5 separate regions of the Homo sapiens genome follow, and regions 1, 2, 3 and 5 are each linked to region 4. Evidence: promoter capture Hi-C in 16 types of primary human blood cells and fetal thymus (Javierre and others, 2016). All regions are on one chromosome and are shown on one strand. Each heading gives the region's core, a stretch centred on a gene start or on the middle of the fragment in contact. The rest is flanking DNA. Distances are from core to core; before and after follow the strand shown.

Region 1 (2,700 bases), core at 21-2,520, 320 kb before region 4:
CATATTCACCATAGCATATTTGCCATGTTGTTTTTTTCATTCCTCTTCTGTTTAATATAGAGAATTCTACTGGGGTCCTCTTTTGCATAGATATGAAGTGGATAAATTCTGGACTCTCCTTCCTTCTTATCTCAGGCCTATTGATCTTCCCTTCAGAACTTTAGTTTAAGGGTACCATTTGGATTGATTATGTTTCTTCACATTTCTGTTGCCTGAGGGGATGGATATGATTCACTCTGTTGGGCTTTGGTCAACAGTAATTGGTAGTTTTTCTCTTATGTCTTTTCTGGGGCAAGGGATAGAGTTGGGGTGTCATTCTATCAAGTTATAAGTTTTTTTAAAAAAGGCTCAGCCCTACGGAGAGCAATTTGACCAAATGAATCACTGTTACAAATGGAAATCCCATTGGGGGAATTGTTCTATAGATAAACTTGCACACATATGAAATGCTTTTTGTACAGAATTATCCATTGCAGCATAGTTTGTCCTAGTAGTAGACTGGAAACAACTCACATATCCAAGAACAGGGAATGATTATGGGATAGCCACATGCTGCATGATTATGTAGTTGTAAATAAGAAGAAGTTCTCTATGCGCTGTTACGGAAAGCTCTGAAGATATAAAGGGAAAAAGCAATGTATACTAATGTTTATCCACTGCTGTTTGGGATTTATATGTCATGTATACATATGAATAATGATACTTTTTTTGAAAAGGAAAGAATAACAAGAATATTCTTTCAAAATATCCTTGTTTGAATTTTGGGACATTTTTGAAAAAAGGAAAGAAAAATAAGAATATATATTCATAGAGAAACAGTGGAAAGATGCAGGAGAAACTGATAAAAGTGGTCACCAGCAGGAGACCATGGGAATAAGTAACAGGATGGATGGAGACACACCACCACCTTTTTTTAAAAAAAGTAAATGAAAATGTATATACATACACATTTTAATTTTTATGAACAGTGGTCTCACATGCGTCTCCCAAGTGGCACCCTCACTCTCCTTCCATTTAGCTGAAGCAAGGAGGTGAAACCTAAATTTTTTAAGCCTGGTGTTCATTGTTCTGATGGAGGAGGAGAACTTTAAAGGAGGCTTTCCAGGATTCCTTTGGCCAACCTTCCCCAGATTTCCTTCACCACGCCATGCCTTTCCTTTGTTCCAGTAGAGCCCTTTTTACTGATGGAGTTAACTGGCCAACAGTGAAGCACAGTCGTGTCCTCTCACTTCCTCCCAGCCCTGGGAACCACAGTGCACTAAGGAATCCTGACCATCTCTCCATGTCTGAGTCACAGTGGTGGTGGGAACAGCACAACTTTCCACAGCTTGTTCCCTTGGCAGTCTCCTTACTCCCTCCCTCCAGATTAGAAGATGATGGTAAAGTTTTATAGACATTGCCACTAGTTTTTTTCTCTCGGTCTGATTAGGTGGGTGACACTGCTTGGAAGTTGGAACACATCATAGATTTCTGAAGTCTTTTGCTCTTTTTTGCTAACTGGTATTTAAGAAAAATAAGTCGAAGTTGTAATTCTTTGTTTTTATTTTAAAAGATTTTGTGATCTGCCTTGACACACTATCTTACCCTAGAAGTTTTTCATATTCTTTATAAATAGCTGTTATATTCCTTCAAAGCACTTGTCTTACCGGCTAGTGACTAAGATAATGGTGTTGAATTCAGTGATAAGTGTAGATCATTTTAATTGACAGTAAATAGATGCCTCTGGATGGTTTAACTATTGTTTTCTCATTCAGGGGAAACTTCTTTCTGCAACTTTGCATAGCAAAACCCTTTTTTTTTACGATGCAGTAACAAAAGTCAGCAGTGAATCCTAATCAATGAAGAGAGTCCAAATTAATTTGGTTTTATTATTTTGGATGGATATATGTCACATTTTAGAGTTATTATGCCTTAGAATACCTCTTGGTAACTAGCACAATATACCGTGGAGCGAGAACCTAAAGTACAGACAGAGTGAATGACGGAGTGGTCAGCAGTTTCCTCACTAGTCAGAGGCAGCTGCAAACATTTTTACTCACATACATTGAATGAAATTCTCTGTTTTTTTCCTTGGTTTTTGTTCCCATGACAGTTTTCACCACTTTTGTTGAACAGTTTCTTCTAAACCTGAATTATGTAGGCATATGTAGCCATGTTACTTATGTTGTTATGAATGTTATAATTTCTTCTTGAGGTATGGCCTTTGCCCATAAAGAACAAGTAGAAATGCTCTGGAATATAGTCTGTGGCTCACATTTGAAAGTATGAAACCTGTATTTATATATTCTAAATGTTCTGTCTTTTAATAAAAGAATTCCCCTTGAAACTGCCTGTCTGGGGGATTTTATTAGGAATATTGCCAATGTTTTCTGAAGACTTATTTAAATTAGATTCACATGGTATACTTTTCTTTCACAGTTGATCTAGTTCTTCCACTCTGAATTTAGAATTTTTTTAAATAAAAGAATGAGTCTAGGCCAGACGTGGTAGCTCATACCTGTAATCCCAGAGCTTTGAGAGGCTGAGGCGGGAGGATTGCTTGAGCCCAGGAGTTCGAGACCAGCCTGGGCAACATATGAAACCCCATCTCTACCAAAAAAAAAAAAAAACCAAAAAAAAAAAAAATTAGCCAGGTGTGTGGCATGTACCTGTAGTCCCAGCTACTCCAGAAGCTGAGGTGGGAGTATGGCTTGAGCCTGA
Region 2 (2,700 bases), core at 19-2,518, 300 kb before region 4:
TAATCCCAGCACTTTGGGAGGCCGAGGCGGGAGGATCACATGAGGTCGGGAGTTCGAGACCAGCCTGACCAACATGGAGTAACCCTGTCTCTACTAAAAATACAAAATTAGCTGGGCTTGGTGGTGTGTGCCTGTAATCCCAGCTACTTGGGAGGCTGAGGCAGGAGAATCGCTTGAACCCAGGAGGTGGAGGTTGTGGTGAGCCAAGATCATGCCATTGCACTCCAGCCTGGGTGACGAGCGAAACTCCGTCTAAAAAAAAAAAGAAAATACATAGCTGTTTAAATGCTAAGCCTGTCATCGTAGACCTTCCTGTATAATGTATTTGTAATCAAATGTTTTTCTGGAATGTGATGATTCCTCTAATATTGGGAATAGAATTTATAGCTCCCAATTGTTGCGCTATAGTGCTATTCCTACCCTCACCTACAGCTTCATGCAAAATATTTTATTGAGCACATACTATGCATCATTCATTGTACAACAGGCTGAAGATATAAAAATAAATAAGACATCGTCCCTGCCTTCAAGGAGCTATATGAGTGAAAACCAAAATCCAAGTTAGAGTATGGACATAGTAACAAAGTAAATTCCATATACGAGGTGTTATGAAAGATGGGAAAAGAACAACTGGACTCTGAAAGATAACCTAGAAATTTCATCCAGTGGAGTCGGGTAATAATGTTGCTCCTGCTGATAGATGATGATGACAACAGTAATATCAGTGCCAGGACTTTAGATCTACCTATACATTATGAATTTAATCATCACCATATTCCAACGAAATAGATAATACAATAATTTCTTTTTACAAATAAAAAATCAAAGTCATCAATGAAAAGAGGCAGAGTTGAGATGTAAACCTGGGTCCATCTGACTTGGAGTCTAAGTCCTTAAAGAGTTTGGGCATTGGAATTCTACAGAGCTGCATTTGGATTGTAATACCACATGTTCTAGCTGAGTAATTGTTGGTAAATTACATAACCTGTCTAAGATTCAGTTTTCTCCTTTGTAAAATGAGGATAACGGTAGCCCCTGTGCATGATGCTGTTGGCTTCCTACCTAAGAGTTACCCCTCCTGCCCTCCTTACTCCTTGCCAATGGAGCTCACCTCCAATTACTATGGCTGAAAATTCCAGATCCTCATGATCCCAGTTGCTCTTGCAGCTAGGGCCTGAATACAACATGACATAGTCCTGGCCATTGGGGTCCGAAGGGAGAAATCAGCAGGAGAAACATTTCCTCTCTAATAAAAAGAGATGCTAGAAATCTACTTTCATTACATATAGTCGTGTGAAACCTGAGACTACTCTAGCCAACTTGTAATCTAAAATGAAGATGTCACGAACACACTGAGGATAAGATGCAGAAAAATGGTAAGTGAAGGAGTCCTTTTTGACATCACTGAGCCAATAACATCATGGAATTATGTGAAACACTAAATTTATTCAGTATTTAAGCCACTTTTAATTGAACATTCTATTACTCCTAGGTAAACCAAATGTACTGAGTTTTAGATGAGCTAAATTGTGTAAAACACTAAGTACAATACTGGCATATAGTAGCTGCTTAATAATAGAGGCTATTTTAATATTCTTGGTCAAAGTCTTCCAAGCATGGTGTTTATTTTGTAGCTTTTGATCATTACTAGTAAGGCATTGTTGTATTGCAATAAATACCTGAGACTGGGTAATTCATAAAGAAAAGAGGTTTAATTTGCTAATAGTTCTGCAGGTTGTACAAGCATGGCTCCAGCATCTGCCCAGCTTCTGGGGAAGCCTCAAGGAGCTTTTACTCACGGCAGAAGGTAAAGCAGGAGCAGGAGCAGTCAGAAAGGTGCCACTTACTTACCCAGATCTCGTGAATACTCACTAATAATTGCAAGAATAGCACCAAGCTAAAAGGGATCTGCCCCCATGACCCAAATACCTCCCATTTGGCTCCACCTTCAACATTAGGGATTACAATTCAACTCATTACAATTCATTACAACTTCATTACAATTCAAATAAGATTTGACAGGGACATACATTCAAACTATATCATTCCACCCCTGGCCCCCCAAATCACATGTCCTTCTCACATTGCAAAATACAATCATGCCTTCCCAGTAGTCCCCTAAAGACTTAACTCATTCCAGCATTAACTCAAAAGTCCAAAGTCCAAAATCTCATCTGACACAAGGCAAGTTCCTTCTACCTATAAGCCTGCAAAATCAAAACCAAGTTATTTATTTCCAATATACAATGAGAGTACAGGCATTGAGTAAACATCCCCATTCCAAAAGGGAGAAATAGGCCAAAAGAAAGGGGCTTCAGTTTCCATGAAGTCTGAAACCCAGCAAGGCAGACATTAAATCTTAAAGCTCCAAAATAATCTCCTTTGATATCATGTCCCACATACAAGGTACACTGGTGCAAGAAATGGGCTCCCAAGGCCTTGGGCAGCCCCAACGCTGTGGCTTTTCAGGATTCAGAACCTACAGCCGGTCTCACAGGTTGTTCAGTGCCTACTTTTCTGGGTGCAGGGGGTTAGCTGCCAGTGGCTCTATCATTCTGGGATCTAGGGGACAGTGGCTCCCTTCCCATGGCTTCACTAAGCAGTGCCCCAGTGAGGACTTTGTGTGTGGGCTCCAACCCTACCTTTCACCTCTGCACTGTCCTAGTAGAGGTTCTCTGTGAGGGCTTTGCCCCTACAGCC
Region 3 (2,700 bases), core at 14-2,513, 260 kb before region 4:
TAAAATATGCACTTTAAAACATTAATGAAAAATACGAAGAGACCATGGATTAGTTTGAATTTCTTCTGGTGACTTTGGATGTCTTTTTACACCTAATTTGGTCATGTCATTTATTCAATAAGTTTAATATCAGATACTAGTTTTAGGTACTGGGGGAATTTTTTTTTCTCGTTTGTAAACCAAGTATGTCCTACTTAGGAACTTAAAGCTTCCTGCTTTTCTTTAGGTTCTAAAGTGCATATATATATTACATTATATTTTGGTCCCTCAATGTATGTTATTTCTTTTTTTCTCTCTCTCTTTAAGGTAATACTGCATTGCATGATTGTGCAGAATCTGGAAGTTTGGACATCATGAAGATGCTTCTTATGTATTGTGCCAAGATGGAAAAGGATGGTTATGGAATGACTCCCCTTCTCTCAGCAAGTGTGACTGGTCACACAAATATTGTGGATTTTCTGACACACCATGCACAGACCAGCAAGACAGAACGTATTAATGCTCTAGAGCTTCTGGGAGCTACATTTGTAGACAAAAAAAGAGATCTGCTTGGGGCTTTGAAATACTGGAAAAAGGCAATGAACATGAGGTACAGTGATAGGACTAATATTATTAGTAAACCAGTGCCACAGACACTAATAATGGCTTATGATTATGCCAAGGAAGTGAACAGTGCAGAAGAGCTAGAAGGTCTTATTGCTGATCCTGATGAGATGAGAATGCAGGCACTATTAATCAGAGAACGTATTCTTGGTCCTTCTCATCCTGATACCTCTTACTATATTAGATATAGAGGCGCTGTCTATGCAGACTCTGGAAATTTCAAACGATGCATCAACCTATGGAAGTATGCTTTGGATATGCAGCAGAGCAATTTGGATCCTTTAAGCCCAATGACCGCCAGCAGCTTATTATCTTTTGCAGAACTATTCTCCTTTATGCTACAGGATAGGGCTAAAGGCCTGCTGGGTACTACTGTTACATTTGATGATCTTATGGGCATACTTTGCAAAAGCGTCCTTGAAATAGAGCGAGCTATCAAACAAACTCAGTGTCCAGCTGACCCATTACAGTTAAATAAGGCCCTTTCTATTATTTTGCACTTAATTTGCTTGTTAGAGAAAGTTCCTTGTACTCTAGAACAAGACCATTTCAAAAAGCAGACTATATACAGGTTTCTTAAGCTGCATCCAAGGGGAAAGAATAACTTCAGCCCTCTTCATCTGGCTGTGGACAAGAATACTACATGTGTAGGGCGGTACCCTGTTTGTAAATTTCCATCTCTACAAGTTACTGCAATACTGATAGAATGTGGTGCTGATGTGAACGTCAGAGACTCGGATGACAACAGTCCCCTGCATATCGCTGCTCTTAACAACCATCCAGACATCATGAATCTCCTTATTAAATCAGGTGCACATTTTGATGCCACAAACTTGCACAAACAAACTGCTAGTGACTTGCTGGATGAGAAGGAAATAGCTAAAAATTTAATCCAGCCTATAAATCATACCACATTGCAGTGTCTTGCTGCTCGTGTCATAGTGAATCATAGAATATATTATAAAGGGCATATCCCAGAAAAGCTAGAGACTTTTGTTTCCCTTCATAGATGATAACTTGACTGTATTTTAGCACTGTTAAAGCACGAATTGGTAACAGTTGTTTCATAAATGAGCACTGTTGTGATAACACCAGCATTCATTTAGCTTGATTGATATCATTGTGCTCTCATTGGCTAAAGCATTATAAGCATCAAATTTACAACATTGGTTTCCCAATATTTAATATAAATATACCATATAATATATTGTTTGTGAATTATTGAGAAATGTAACATTCAAATTTCTAAAATTGTCTGCCAAAGGCTTATTCATTCTGGTTTTGTTTGCTGTTGGGTGTTTGGGGCAGAGTTAACCATTTCTCCATGGTGTCTTTATACTTTACTGGTTTGTGAATTTTATACAATTGAAAGTCTTTTTTTCTTGCTTCTTTCTTCTCTTCTCAAGTTTCCCCCCTGTTTCTACTTTATTGTTTGTCCTAACCATTTCTACTACAGTTTTTTCCTTATGGACCCATACTAGGTTGTACAAACCTTAAGGACTCGTTACCATTTGCAGTTACCATAAGTGCTTTATCTTCTCTATGCACAGGCTTAAACTTGACTGTTGTATGTTAGCATATTTTCTATGCAGCAGTTGGTCAACTTCAACTCAAAACACTGTTTTCTTATGTTTGTTACAAACTTAATTTTTTGAAAGTACTCTGTAGCATGACAATTTTTAGAGCTGCAGGTTAGCTATTATAGCTCAAGCTTTTTTGTTTGTTTTTTTCTTCACTTTCTTCACATCTGAGGTTTCTTTCTCTAATCCACTGAAATTATTGTGTGCTAAATTTGGGAAACAGATCTATTCTAACTCATTAACCCAGTTGAAATTTAGGTCTGTCATCTTAATATATCATGCAGTAAAAGGAAGAATCTTTTTAAAGTGACCCACCTTTCATGCTGCTCCAGCATTGTCCTGCTTGTGCTGATGGTGTGATTAGGTGTAGAGAATTTGCTTAAATTTAACTTCAAAGTTCATCACACAGCTTAATGAGTCACATTGAAATACTCAGTAATTGAACTGCAAATCACTTTTAGTTACAAAAAGAGCTAAAGCATGTCAGTGGCATGATGCTTGCCAAGCCAGATCTAGG
Region 4 (2,700 bases), core at 194-2,693:
CTCATGGAAAGCCTTTTACCGACCTAGGAGGCATTCTGTATTATCTCTGAATGAGTCCCACATTGCAAATTTTTCCTCTAGATTTGGATCAGATTGCTAGTCCTTGAGCTGAGAATCAGATGAAACATTTGGCTTCCCTAACTTAAGGGCCATGTTTATTAGAATTAATTTTCTGAGAATGTATAGAGTGTCCATAGCTGATTCCAGTAAGTTAAATGTGTATAAGACTCCACTTTAAAAATCTTCAGGCATTTGGGGGTATGTGTGCTAAGTGAGAGATCTTAATTTTAATAACAGTGGAAACTCCAGACTGGGCACACCTGAAGGGCAAGGACTGTGAGCTCCGTATTTGTAGGGAAGTACCGAGGACAGCCTAGAATCCGTCTGTGGCTGTTAAATGCGGCATTTTGTAAAGACATGCAGGAATACCTGTGAATAAGTAGTTAATAGTACCAAAAATTATTCAGAGCACTTTGGATTGTTGAATAAGTGTAAGATTACCCCAGCCCATAGAGTATAAGAATTACATTTTCTAAGAAAGCTAACAAAATTAAACCCAAAATTTTATTAGCTAAGTTGATCACAGGGAACCTAGTTTAGTTATATTATTGGGTGGATCCCCCCACCCGCTACTCAGGAATGCCTCATGAAAGTTTAAAGGGCATAGTATACCGGCTAAACAACTTAAATCCCTATTTTTGGAAAAAAGAACTAGAAGCATGTTTAAATTTTTTAGAATGCAGGTAATTGGAGAAGATATTGAGCTTATTTTGCTGTTGCAGATTGATGCACCATTGATTCTTGATAACACGTCGACTCAAGCAAAGTAAAATCTGTAAGATTTGTAAAAGAATGACGCAAGCAGTCATATATAGGTATGAATATGCATGTTGTATATGTTTGGGGGCATTATACACAGATTTTTAAGTGATTCCTGGTATCCAGAAAGGATTAAGATTAGGAAAGTCTCTGAGCTTTTGTAGTGTCAATAAACATTTATCTCCACTGGTTTGTTTTTCTGTTTCCCTAACCGTTCGGCTTAAAACTGGCCCTCCAAAAATGAATCTGTTAGCAAGTTTATACTGATCCATCCTCGTTTTCAGATATACCATCCTCAGGTTCTACAGAGCCAGAATTGTCTCAAAGCGTACTTGATGCTTTTGACCTTGCGCTTCCCAAGATAAAAATTCTGACGGAGGGATTTGTGGACTTGATTTTCACAAGGCCTGCGAGGTGTTTACAAGCCTCGAGGGCTTTGAGTAGAAAAGGTAGGGTCATGCGCTAGCTAGGGAGATATCGGAGAGAGGAAGTGCTGCACAGGACCCAGATGATAGCGGTTTCAAATACTGGCTTAGTCTGCGGCGGGCGCAGGTCCCCTCACCCGGCACCCTGTGGTTCAGCACAGGAGGGTTCTTTCTCTCCGCGGGCACTGATTCCGGGTCGCGGCGGACGTCGCTTCCGGAGCAGCATGGCGGCCACTGAGGATGAGAGGCTAGCAGGGAGCGGTGAGGGAGAGCGGCTGGATTTCTTACGGGATCGGCACGTGCGATTTTTCCAGCGCTGCCTCCAGGTTTTGCCGGAGCGCTATTCTTCACTCGAGACAAGCAGGTAACTCGTGGCACAGTCAGCCAGGCTGGCACAAGGCCCGGGCTCCAGCGGAAAGGCGCGGCGGAGTCGGACCGCAAACTGGGCGCCGGAAGGGGGCTGCGCGGCCGCCCAGTTGGCACTGACTGGTTTCAAGTGGGCTTGAGGTTACCCCCACTCTCCCGCCGTACGGTGGGAAGGTCTGGAAGGCTGTAGGTCGAGGGCTGTGGCATCTCCAGTTTCCGGCTTTTTCACTTCCCTTTTCTTCTGGCAACTCTGAGCTGCTTTTTTACCCGCTCCCATAGCCTGTCACTTTGCCTCATTACTTCCGAGTGTAAAAGGAAAAGGACAAAGTTTGTCGTCGTATTTTTAGATGAATACTTCTGTGCATCCTTGTCCTCTCTAAAGTCATTAACTCTTAATAGAGTGTCTGTATGGTGTTTTATGTGTAGGAGCGGCAGAGAACCTCTAAGGTCTTAGAAACTTTGTGGGAACTATAAATCTAATGGTAGGCGAAAGAGGTGTGGTGTTGCGTGAAGCAGCCTGTTAAAAGTATCGCAATAGCTGAAGAGTGTGGTGCGGCAGAGACTAAGCGACTTCATTTACAGTAAAAGCTGGGGATGAGAAGAAAGAAAGGAGAAGGCAATCTTTGCTCCGCATTGCTGTGTTTTGAAGTGAAGCTCAAAAGCTGCTTGAGACTGGATGGGAGGAAAGAGCGGCTTGTTTTTGCTGTGTTCTTTCCCCACGTTTTCCAAATTCTGAGTTGCTGGTGTATTTTGAACACTGCATGACCGGATCAGTTTGGGGAGCTTTGCAGATTACTTCTGCACACTTGGTCAAGAACCACATTATGGTAGGTGCCAGAGTACAGCTGAACAAGACAAGCATTTGTATAGAGTTCTGTGCTATATGTTAGTGTAGTGTTCATAGGAGTATATAGACAGGCATGTACATAATCCAGATATCTTTAGAGAGGCCTTCCTTAAACACCCTTCCTAAAGGGACCACTTCCAATGACCACCTCACATTACGTATGTATTGGTTTATTTGTTTAATGTCTTTCTATTACACTGGATTATAAACTTCACAAAGGTAACATTTTCGTCTATCTTGTTT
Region 5 (2,700 bases), core at 178-2,677, 290 kb before region 4:
CTTTAAAATTCCATTTAACCTTCACCTCCTTCCCAGATTTGCTCAAGCAGAGTTAGCAGCTCTGTTCTTTGGGCTCTCACTGTTGTTTATACACATATTTTGTTTTCATCTGTTTATAGCTACATTTCTCCTACAGACCATCAATTCCTCAAAAGTAGAGATTATGTCATATTCATCCAGTATCTAACATAGTACATAATAGGATTCCATAACTTTGTTTTATTGGGGTTTTTTTTGTTGTTGTTTTGTTTTGTTTTTAGACAGGGTCTGGCTCTGTCACTCAGGCTGGAGTGCAGTGGCGCAATCTCAGCTCACTGCAACCTCCGCTTCCCAGACTCAAGCCATCCTCTCACCTCACCCTCCTGAGTAGCTGGGACTACAGGTGTGCATCACCATGCCTGCCTAATTTTTGTATTTTTTGTAGAAATGGAGTTTTGCTATGTTGCCCAGACTGGTCTTGAACTCCTGAGCTCAAGCAGTCTGACAGCCTAGACCTCCCAAAGTGCTGGGATTCCAGGATTCAATAATTTTTAAGGTGGTGAATGAATTTATGACAATTAAAATATCTCACCTTGAGCAAATTATCAGTGTTAATAAAGCGGACTTATATGAGAAAGACATTTCTAAATAGCACAAGAAGCGTACACCTTGCTATGCTATTTTTGTGTAACTTTTAAATTCATGAAAGTAGATTCTTTTCATACTTTTCTAAATAGAACTATGCCCAGTTAGTTACCAAAAACTAGAGATTTAAAAAAAATTCATCCTGGCCATTTCTCAAATTAGAACAAGTTACCAAAGTATACCAAAACCGTGCAAGCAAACTGTTTCACTGAGGTTTCTGGTTTAAATATAGACTGGCAGGAATTAAATGTTTGACAATCCCCAGAAGGAATACTATAGAAGGAATGTTCTACTAATTCAAGGATATTGCACAGACCAAAAAAATCCCAAGGGTAGCCAGGTAAATTTGGGAAACTTGGCGGTATCATTTAACACATACAAAACCAGTAAGAATTTTCAAAAAATATAATATCAAGTGGGTTCAATGTTTGGTGAAGTCAATAGTGCCTTGCTGGTGGTGACAGATTGGTCTAAGTCTTCTAGGAAATAGTATAACAATGTATATGAAAAGCCAAAAAGACATTCTGTAATCCAACTCTTGGAAATTTATCCCAAGGCAATATGTGAGAAGAAGAAAACAACTTATAGGCCTGAAAATGTTCATTGTTCTATAATTAGGGTGTCCCCTTTTTGCTGATCCAATTCCTCCTCCCCATCAGCCTTTCAGGTAAGGGGTAATGTCTCCTCTGGGCTTACATTATAAAGCCTTGGGCCTAGGGAAATGCTCTGGATGCAAGTAACACTTTGCTCCCCCGTCGGGGAAGCCTGAATATTCACCTTGGCTCCCGGAAGTGGTTCCCCTTTTTGTCTGTCATCTCTGGGTACTTACCTGAATGGGTAATTCAGAGGCTGTCTCTGGTCCCTTTCCCCTTTTCCAGTCTTTGGCTCCCCCTACAGACCCCTTAAAAATGAGTCTTCCTGTTATGCCCCAGTAGCATTCTGTGGCTTTCAGGAAGACAGTAATTGCTGATTTAACCAGACATCAAAGTCTTAATAACCAAACCAATCCAAAGCAAACCAACCAAACCAAACAAAAAAGTTGTCCCTCCCATTGATGGAAGGTAGAAAAGAGGTGGGCATTTAGAAACACAATGTAAAATCTATATAAAAGGAAATTTAGTTGATTTTCTATTTAAGAAAAAAAAAATCAAAGATTGGAAGAACAAATGTTCTTTAGAAATGGAAATGACTTCCAATAGGGGGTTGTGAATAAGTCTCCAAACATTTCAATTAAGTCTTCAAACATTTTTACTCATGCACATGAGATGCTATCTACCCTCCTACATATTTTTCAATTGTCACCTAAAATTTTTCATCATAAGTTTAAGTATTCGCAAAGGTTGCAATTTTCCGCAAAATGTAAAAATTAACATTTTTAAATAAAACATGCTTTTAAATGAATCCAACGAAATCTAAATATCATAGCAGTTATGCTTACTATGAACCATTTAAAAAAATATATGAACAAATTATTATTTACCTATAGGATATTTTTACATAATTTATTTTCTCTTCGCATTTATAATTCCATTCCACATCCCATTCCTCAGGAATATATCCTAATTAATGTACTTTTATGTTTGAATATGTTTTTTGTTTTTGTTTTTGAGACAGTATCTCGCTCTGTTACCTAGGCTAGACTGCAGTGGTGCAATCACAGCTCACTGAAGCCTCAACCTCCCAGGCTCAAGTGATCCTCCCACCTCAGCCTCTGGAGTAGCTGGGACTGCAAGCATGTACTTCCATGCTTGGCTAATTTTTAAGTTTTTTGTAGAGACAGGGTCTCACTCTGTTGCCCAGCCTGGTCTTGAACTTCTGGGCTCAAGCAATCCTCCTGCCTGGGCCTCCCAAAATGCTGGGATTACAGGCGTGAGCCACTATGCCTAGCTGAATGTGTTTTATGAATCACTCTATTATATTTCTCTGCAATGAAAATACATATAAAAGCCAGGCACAGTGGCTCATGCCTGTTATCCCAGCATTTTGGGAGACCAAGGTGGGTGGATCACCTGAGGTCAGGAGTTCAAGACCAGCCTGGCCAACATGGCGAAACCCCGTCTCTACTAAAAAATACAA

What was found. Contacts are between HindIII fragments. The CHiCAGO score rates a contact against its expected background, and 5 or more counts as called.
Region 1: a contact is called between a fragment that was not itself captured here and the fragment with the promoter of PGGT1B in region 4, in 9 of 17 cell types (M2 macrophages, naive B cells, naive CD8 T cells and 6 more). The highest score is 7.0, in M2 macrophages.
Region 2: a contact is called between a fragment that was not itself captured here and the fragment with the promoter of PGGT1B in region 4, in 1 of 17 cell types (non-activated CD4 T cells). The highest score is 5.9, in non-activated CD4 T cells.
Region 3: a contact is called between a fragment that was not itself captured here and the fragment with the promoter of PGGT1B in region 4, in 1 of 17 cell types (activated CD4 T cells). The highest score is 5.6, in activated CD4 T cells.
Region 5: a contact is called between a fragment that was not itself captured here and the fragment with the promoter of PGGT1B in region 4, in 4 of 17 cell types (non-activated CD4 T cells, monocytes, activated CD4 T cells and 1 more). The highest score is 7.2, in non-activated CD4 T cells.

Annotation. Positions count from the first base shown.
Region 1 is chr5:115,582,248-115,584,947 of GRCh38, reverse strand. The region is part of intron 3 of TMED7-TICAM2 (TMED7-TICAM2 readthrough); the gene reads left to right. All of the region lies in intron 1 of TICAM2 (TIR domain containing adaptor molecule 2), which reads left to right. Among named protein-coding and RNA genes, the nearest start is that of TICAM2-AS1, 19 kb to the left of the region's middle. The HindIII fragment of the contact is 7,881 bases long and covers 1-2,700 here.
Region 2 is chr5:115,565,702-115,568,401 of GRCh38, reverse strand. No RefSeq gene overlaps it. Among named protein-coding and RNA genes, the nearest start is that of FEM1C, 22 kb to the right of the region's middle. The HindIII fragment of the contact is 3,777 bases long and covers 1-2,700 here.
Region 3 is chr5:115,523,224-115,525,923 of GRCh38, reverse strand. It overlaps FEM1C (fem-1 homolog C), which reads left to right. Exons shown (of 3, transcript NM_020177.3): 3 at 307-2,700. The coding sequence ends at 1,616. Among named protein-coding and RNA genes, the nearest start is that of FEM1C, 20 kb to the left of the region's middle. The HindIII fragment of the contact is 2,106 bases long and covers 211-2,316 here.
Region 4 is chr5:115,261,620-115,264,319 of GRCh38, reverse strand. PGGT1B (protein geranylgeranyltransferase type I subunit beta) reads left to right here and starts at 1,443. Exons shown (of 9, transcript NM_005023.4): 1 at 1,443-1,608. The coding sequence starts at 1,469. RefSeq lists enhancers at 1,325-1,374, 1,405-1,584. The HindIII fragment of the contact is 10,345 bases long and covers 1-2,700 here.
Region 5 is chr5:115,548,141-115,550,840 of GRCh38, reverse strand. No RefSeq gene overlaps it. Among named protein-coding and RNA genes, the nearest start is that of FEM1C, 4.7 kb to the right of the region's middle. The HindIII fragment of the contact is 7,329 bases long and covers 1-2,700 here.